Linked DNA regions of Homo sapiens: region 1 is linked to region 2. The links are contacts of gene promoters, found by promoter capture Hi-C in human tissues and cell types (Jung and others, 2019). All regions are on one chromosome and are shown on one strand. Each heading gives the region's core, a stretch centred on a gene start or on the middle of the fragment in contact. The rest is flanking DNA. Distances are from core to core; before and after follow the strand shown.

What was found. The method cuts DNA at HindIII sites, captures the fragments that hold promoters and counts their contacts. A contact is called where the count stands out against the background at its distance.
Region 1: a fragment that was not itself captured here is called in contact with the fragment with the promoter of ANKRD9 in region 2 in 1 of the 25 tissues and cell types used here (dorsolateral prefrontal cortex).

Annotation. Positions count from the first base shown.
Region 1 is chr14:102,784,525-102,787,768 of GRCh38, forward strand. All of the region lies in intron 1 of TRAF3 (TNF receptor associated factor 3), which reads left to right. Among named protein-coding and RNA genes, the nearest start is that of TRAF3, 8.7 kb to the left of the region's middle. The HindIII fragment of the contact is 5,113 bases long and covers 1-3,244 here.
Region 2 is chr14:102,507,974-102,511,382 of GRCh38, forward strand. ANKRD9 (ankyrin repeat domain 9) reads right to left here and starts at 1,803. Exons shown (of 4, transcript NM_152326.4): 1 at 1,556-1,803; 2 at 668-873; 3 at 502-576. It overlaps LOC105370679 (a long non-coding RNA gene), which reads left to right and starts at 2,070. Exons shown (of 4, transcript XR_007064352.1): 1 at 2,070-3,409. RefSeq lists silencers at 591-752, 1,747-2,186, 2,347-2,396 and enhancers at 1,877-2,520, 2,521-3,166, 3,167-3,409. The HindIII fragment of the contact is 3,197 bases long and covers 594-3,409 here.

The sequences.
Region 1 (3,244 bases), core at 62-2,561, 280 kb after region 2:
TGCTTGGCTTCTGATTCCAGCTAGGGTCAATTGAGAATTATTGAATCACCCACACTTTCTTTGAGAACTTTCTAAGTGCTAGGGGCTATGCTCGTTGCTAAAGCTAAAAAGTCAGATAGGATGCCGTCTGATCTCTGTTTTCAAGGAGCTTCCATGTGATGAATGAGCCAGAAGAATAATTTCATTATGGCACCATGTAGTAGGTGCCACAACAGTGGAACAGAGGCTCTGGTGCATTGTGGAGGCGCTGTGCAGTTTCAACCTGGGTTAGGAGGAGGCGTTTCCCAAGGAGGTAACTCTTAGGGAAGCTAGCAGCAGGAGTGGGGAAGCCTGGGCTGGCAGGGAGTCGCCTGGCAGAGGGCCCGTGAGTCGGAAGGGGTTCTCCTGTGGCTGTCCTTCAGGGGAGAGGGTACAGGAAAAGGCACCCGGCCACTTCTGGGTGCTGCCTTTGTGACAGCCTAACTTCTGAGGCAGGAATTCTCCCCATTTTGCAGATGAGGAAAAGGAAGAGCAACAGGCCTGTTGGACCCCAGAGTTCATGGTTTCACCACAGCTGAATTACAGTGCAGTTTTAGATTTTCTTCAGATTCTAAACTTCTTAGTTTTGCTTTCAGAGTAGACTTAGTTTTGCTGCTGTAGAGTGCTTTTTAAACAAATTGTGTATTTTTCATGCAGCCTTTCCCTTCCATCCAACATCTGTTTTGCCTATATGGCTGATACTCTAGGCCGCACTCCGTTCCATCTCTGGCGTAAGTTCCTTTCTTACAGCAGCCTCCTCGGATTCACTCTCCTTTGACACATTTGGATGGGAGGTTCTTTACGCAGTGGCTCAGATGCTTCTTACAGCTTGCTGAGTAACAGTCCCTAACCTGATTTGCTAATGTGTTTTCTTTCTCCTTTCTCTCTTAATTTACATTTAAACTGGTAGTCTAGTAATAATGATAGTATTTAGTCATTGTGTCTTACAGGGTTTTACAAACATTAGCTTGTTAGTGATGAACAAGTCCCCAAGGCCTGGTCACTCTGCAGAGAGCATAATGGTTGCAGGCTAGTACCTATTCATCTTGAATTTAATTATAACTGCAGATTGCCTGTGGAAATATGAGTTAAAGGCATGGAAGCCCTTACCACTGTTAGCAGGGAAATGATGTTTGGCTATTTTGGAGAATACTTTAGCTCTTCTGTGAGAACCACTGTCAAGGTTTTGAACGTGCAACCAGGAGGGGTCAGTGGTGGCTGAGCAGAGATGTAGGGGCTTGTTTCATGGCCATTTGTACCTGCTCCAGGAAGGGCTGTGAATAACGGAATGCAGCCAGACACTGAGGCCACTAGGTCAGGTCCTTGGGATGACAGAGGGTAGATTTCTTTGTTCTTAGACCTAAGTTGGCCCTTGTTGGGTGGAGGTGGTGGCGTGAGAGCCTTCCCTGCCTTCTCCAGGTTGAAGGATATTTCTGTGCATCTGGGATAGGTCTCTAGGGTTGAGACGACAAGCTTCTCAAGGGTTGGCTCACTTCATTCTTTCTATTTCTGCAGTCTGGTCTATGATGTACACAGTAAAAAGGAGATCAGTTTATGTATGGAAGGAATTAGACCTGCTTTGAATTCTGGTCTGTCCTTCAGCTAACTATGCTGTTAAATTACTCTTCCTTTCTAAGCCTCAGTTTTCTCATCTATGCAAAGGTAACTGTAGAGTTCACAGTCACGTGGAAAAGCCTCTGAAACCTAAATTCTCCCTCTGGAGATGGATGGTGGTGATGGTCGCACAACATTATGAATGTATTTAATACCACTGGACTATACACTTAAAATGATTACAATGATAAATTTTATGTGTAATTTACCATAATAAAAAAGTAATTGTGAGACTTAAAAGTGAGCCTGGGCTGGGTGCGGAGGTTCATGCTTGTAATCCCAGCACATTGGGAAGCCGAGGTGGGTGGATCACCTGAGGTCATGAGTTCGAGACCAGCCTGAACAGCATAGTGAAAACCCATCTCACCTAAAAATACAAAATTAGCCGGGCGTGGTGGCACATGCCTGTAATTCCAGCTACTTGGGATGTTGAAGCAGGATAATTGCTTGAACCCGGGAGGCAGAGGTTGCAGTGAGCCAAGATCGTGCCATTGCACTCCACCCTGGGCAACAAGAGTAAAACTGTCTAAAAAAAAAACGAGCCTGTGCCAGGTGCAGTGGCTCATACCTATAGTCCCAGCACTTTGAGAGGATGAGGCGGGGGGATCGCTTGAATCCAGGAGTTCTCAACCAACCTGGGCAACATAGTGTTATAAGACCTTGTCTCTACAAAAAATTTAAAAATTAGCTGGGTCTGGTGGCGTGCTCCTGTAGTCCCATCTAACTACTCAGGAGGCTGATGCGGGAGGAGTGCTTGAGCCCAGGAGGTCGAGGCTACAGTGAGGTGTTACTGTGTCACCATACTTCCGCACTTTAGCCTGGGTGACTCAGTGAGATCCTGTCTCAAAACAAGAACAAGAAAAATCAGAGCATGTGAGAGAATATAAGAACCTAATATTTCAGAAGTGATCATTTCTCTTCCCCTTTCCTTTCCTGAGTGGTTTGATAAAGGGAATGACTTATTAGCAATGTGGATGACAGGCTGTCTTGGAAGTATGGCCTGTCCCTGGAAGAAATACCGGTGGGAGTAGAAGGACATTATTGGACTGCAAATAAATTATTTATAAAAAGGGTAAAATGTCTAGAAACTGAAATCACAGTATATTTGCACAAAAGGAACATCTATAGATATCTCCCTTTTTAAAAAGCAATTTTAACATATGAATTTTTATATATTTAAATTCGTATTTTAGCACTTTTTTTTCTGTTATTTAGCAATAATAATATTCTTCAATTTGGGCTGGGCGTGGTGGCTCACGCCTGTAATCCCAACACTTTGGGTGGCTGAGGTGGGCGAATCACTTGAGGTCAGGAGTTCGAGACCAGCCTGGCCAACATGGTAAAACCCCATCTCTACTAAACCAAAAAAAAAAAAAAAAAATTAGCTGGGTGTGGTGGCACATGCCTGTAGTCCCAGCAACCTGGGAGGCTGAGGCAGGAGAATCGCTTGAATTCGGGAGGTGGAGGTTGCAGTGAGCCGAGATGGCGCTACTGCACTGCAGCCTGGGTGACAGTGAGACTGTCTCAAACAACAACAAAAACAACAACAACACTTCGATTTATTCAGGCCTCTGTTCACATTTTACCTCTTCAAAGGGGTCTTCTGAACACC
Region 2 (3,409 bases), core at 553-3,052:
GCGGGGAAACTGGGGAGGCCCGGGGACTCCCCTCTGCCCCTCACACAGCCCCTCCGGTCCTGGCCCACCAGGCCTGTACCTACCTCCAGCCTCGGCCAGGCCCTTCCAGTCACCCTACAGCTCCATCTCTCCGACGCCCAGAACCACCGCCTCCATCCTTGATCTAGCTGTACCTGTTCTCCCTCCTTGAAACTGACTTGCTCTCTGGCACCTCTGCTGGAAATGCCCTTGCTGCCCATGCCCTCAAATCTCCCCTCCCCTCTCCAACCCAGGGACCCACTGGAAGAGCTTCTGTTCCCACCTAAGCCAGGTTCATACGACCCCAAATAAAGAAAAGGCCAGGGAGGGGATGAGAAAGCTTGGGCCCACATCTCAAGCTGAGGCAAATCCACTCTCCAGCCCAAGCGCAACCCTGACCCTGATCTCCGACCCCAGACCACTTGGAGGCCCCTGGAGCCTCTTCCTGGGCTGTTCAGAGGCATGATCCAGACTCAGACCTACCTGGTTCCTGCACCGCGATCACCTAGTTCCGGGGATGTGGGTATATCACAGTCCCTGGCCGAGCCTCAGCTTTATCTGTAAGAAAGGGGAGGGGTGGACGACGGCTGTGCGGGCGGGGTGAGCCTGGGGCGTGGCACCAGCCCTCTATCCAAACATGTTTGCTTACACGTTAGCTCCTGGGAGGAGATAGGAGGGTGAAAACAACCTGGAGACCGGTGTGCACCGCACTGCACAGTCTGCCATCCTCTTCAGGTCCCATACCTCTCTTGATCTCCCCGACTACTAGATGAAGCGGGTACTGCCATCCCACTTTCCAGCAGGGCACAAGCTTCTCCAATTCTCCAAGGTCAGCAAGCCACGGCAGAGCCAGGCCTAGAACTCAGGTCCCCTGCGTCTCAGTTTGGGCTCATTCCAGAATTGGTGGGGACCCCCAACCCACAGGCAATCGAGCTTAGGCCCTGACCCTGCCCTCTGAGTCCCCAGCCCCGACCTGAGCCTAGGCGTCTGACCTCTGGCTCCGTCCCAACCTCCCTACTGCCTTCTTTCAAGGGTAAGCCCTTGGTCACAAGGGGCCTGGGACAGAAGGCAGGCCGCGTCCACACACACTGACTGGGTCACTATCACTGGCAGTAACTGAGTTAAAGAGAGCGGCGCGGTGCGGGTAGGCTGTGGCCCGTGGGCAACACCGTGACTGGAGCCCCTTCCCCAAGCCTGGGCCTCCGGGCCCCAGATATGCCCTGTGCCGGCACGCGTGGGGCGCCGGGCGGGTTACGTAAAGTTCGGCCTCCCCACGTCACCGGGCAGAGTCACGGCCGCGGCTCGTGAATAAGGGGGTTGGGCCATCGAAGGCAGCGCCGCGCCCGGGGCCACCCGCCACCTCCTACCCGTCCCCTCCCGGCCTGCACGGCCAGACGTCGGGCGGCGGAGGGTCGCGGGGCCGAGCGGGGCGTCCGCGCGCAGGTGGCCGGCGCAGCGAGGGCTGCACCTGCGTGCGCGTGTGCCGGAGGAGGAGGGGGCGGCGGCCGCGGGCGCGGCGCGGGGGACGGGGACTCACCATGGGGGGCGCGGGGGCCACAGGCCGGGCGTCCCCGCCCCTGCCGCGGACCGGAGCGCGCGCTGTCCCCCGCGGGCGAGCGGGCAAAGGTCCCACGACGGACGCACGGGAGGGAGCCACCGCCGCCCGCGCCCGCCGCAGCCGCGCTCTGAGCCGCCGCGGCCGGATCGCAGGGCGGCGGTGCCGTCGCCGGCGGCGGGCGGCGGGCGGCGGGCGGCGGGCGGCGCAGTGCGGCCCCGGCCAGGCAGGACAGCGGGACCGTCCGCCGCCGCCATTGGCCCGCGCCGCCGGCCCCCGCCACCACCCATTGGCCGCCGCGCTGCACCATTGTTACGTCACTGGCCGGCGGGCGGGGCGCACCGCTGGACCCGCGGAAAACTTCGGAGAAACTTGAGGGAGCGCCGGCGGGGAGAACGGAGAGGAGGGGCGGGGCCGTGGCGAAAGGGGCGGGGCGTTGATGGGCGGGGGCGGGGCTCCCGGAACCCGAGCTGCGGGCGAAGAAAGGCTCCGAGCTCCGAGCTGCCCTAGCCCGGGAGGGCGCCGCTGCTCTGCGAACTCGGGCGCGCGCGTAGGTGGCCCGCCCTCCGCCGTGCGTGACTTTCCTCGTCGCGTCCAGCTCCCCTTTTCTTTGACCTTACGTGACCTTGGGAAAAACCTCCAGGCTGCTACCCCATCTGCACATGGGAGGGCCGGGGGTAGGAGCCGCGACCCCTAAGGGCTCCACCGCCTTCTGCCCGGCCAGGGTCGTGCCTGGCGCGCCCCCGCTCCAGCTGACCCGCGCAAGGGAGGGAGGGGCGGACGGATGGGGACAGCTGTTTAGGAGCGCGCACTGCGCCCATCTCGGCCTCAACACTCATGTTTCCACTTCGTTTCACGACCACCAGCCACAGTGGACACGATGATCCCCAGTTCACCCGCCAGCAAATCAGGGCTCAGAGAGGTGGCCTCAAAGAGAGGAGCGGCCAGGAGGGAAGCCGGGGGTTTGCCCTGCGGTTCTTCCCACATCTGGGCGGGATAGATTCGATTGGGCCTCGGCCACCCCCACCGTCTCCGTCGGGGGTTCCAAGGTTTGGGGTCATGACCTAGGGGGCTTAGGAGCCTGGGTCCATCTCAACTAATTTATGGCCTCACTCGCCCCCAGCGGCTGGGAATTCTAGGCCCATTTTACAGATGTGGACGCAGATCTGGAGAGGGGCAATGACTGCTCAACCCCCCACCCATCCTCCCAGACACGACCTTCCACCTGGAATCCCCCCACACACGTTCTCAGAGGCCAGGCAGCCGGGGTCTCATGGTGAAATCCCCACATTCCATGCAGGGGCTCTTTCTGGTTCCTTCCCTAGAATGCTGTCCCTGCCCTTCCAGTACTATCTCACCAGGGAGACCCTCCCACTCCCCCACTCCGCTCCAACCAAGCAAGGCCTCTGCCTCGCCCCGGTGGGAGGGGCCTCGTCCAGAGGGCACGCCCCTGCACACACAATCAGCCCTGTCCTGGCTTCTCTGTGTGCCCCAGCCAGTCAGTCTGGGTGGAAGTCTTACCTGGGCCCTCTCAACAGACCTAGGCAGGCCTCTGTCCCCAGCCCAACGAGCTCAATCCCTTAAGCACACACGCCACAGAGCAGTCCTGAGAGGCCAGGTGGACAGTACCATGAGGCAGACAAAGCTGTGAGGCCCAGAGAGGGTCAGGCCACCCCAGCCCAGGTAGGCACTCACATGTATCCTGCCCAGGCTGCCATGCATGGACCCACCAGGGGGATGACCAGACCCCACCAGCCCTGCCCCACCTCAGGGCGGGGGACGTTCCAGGCCACGCCATCTCTCCCAGGGAGTCCATGGCAACTGCCAAGCTTACAG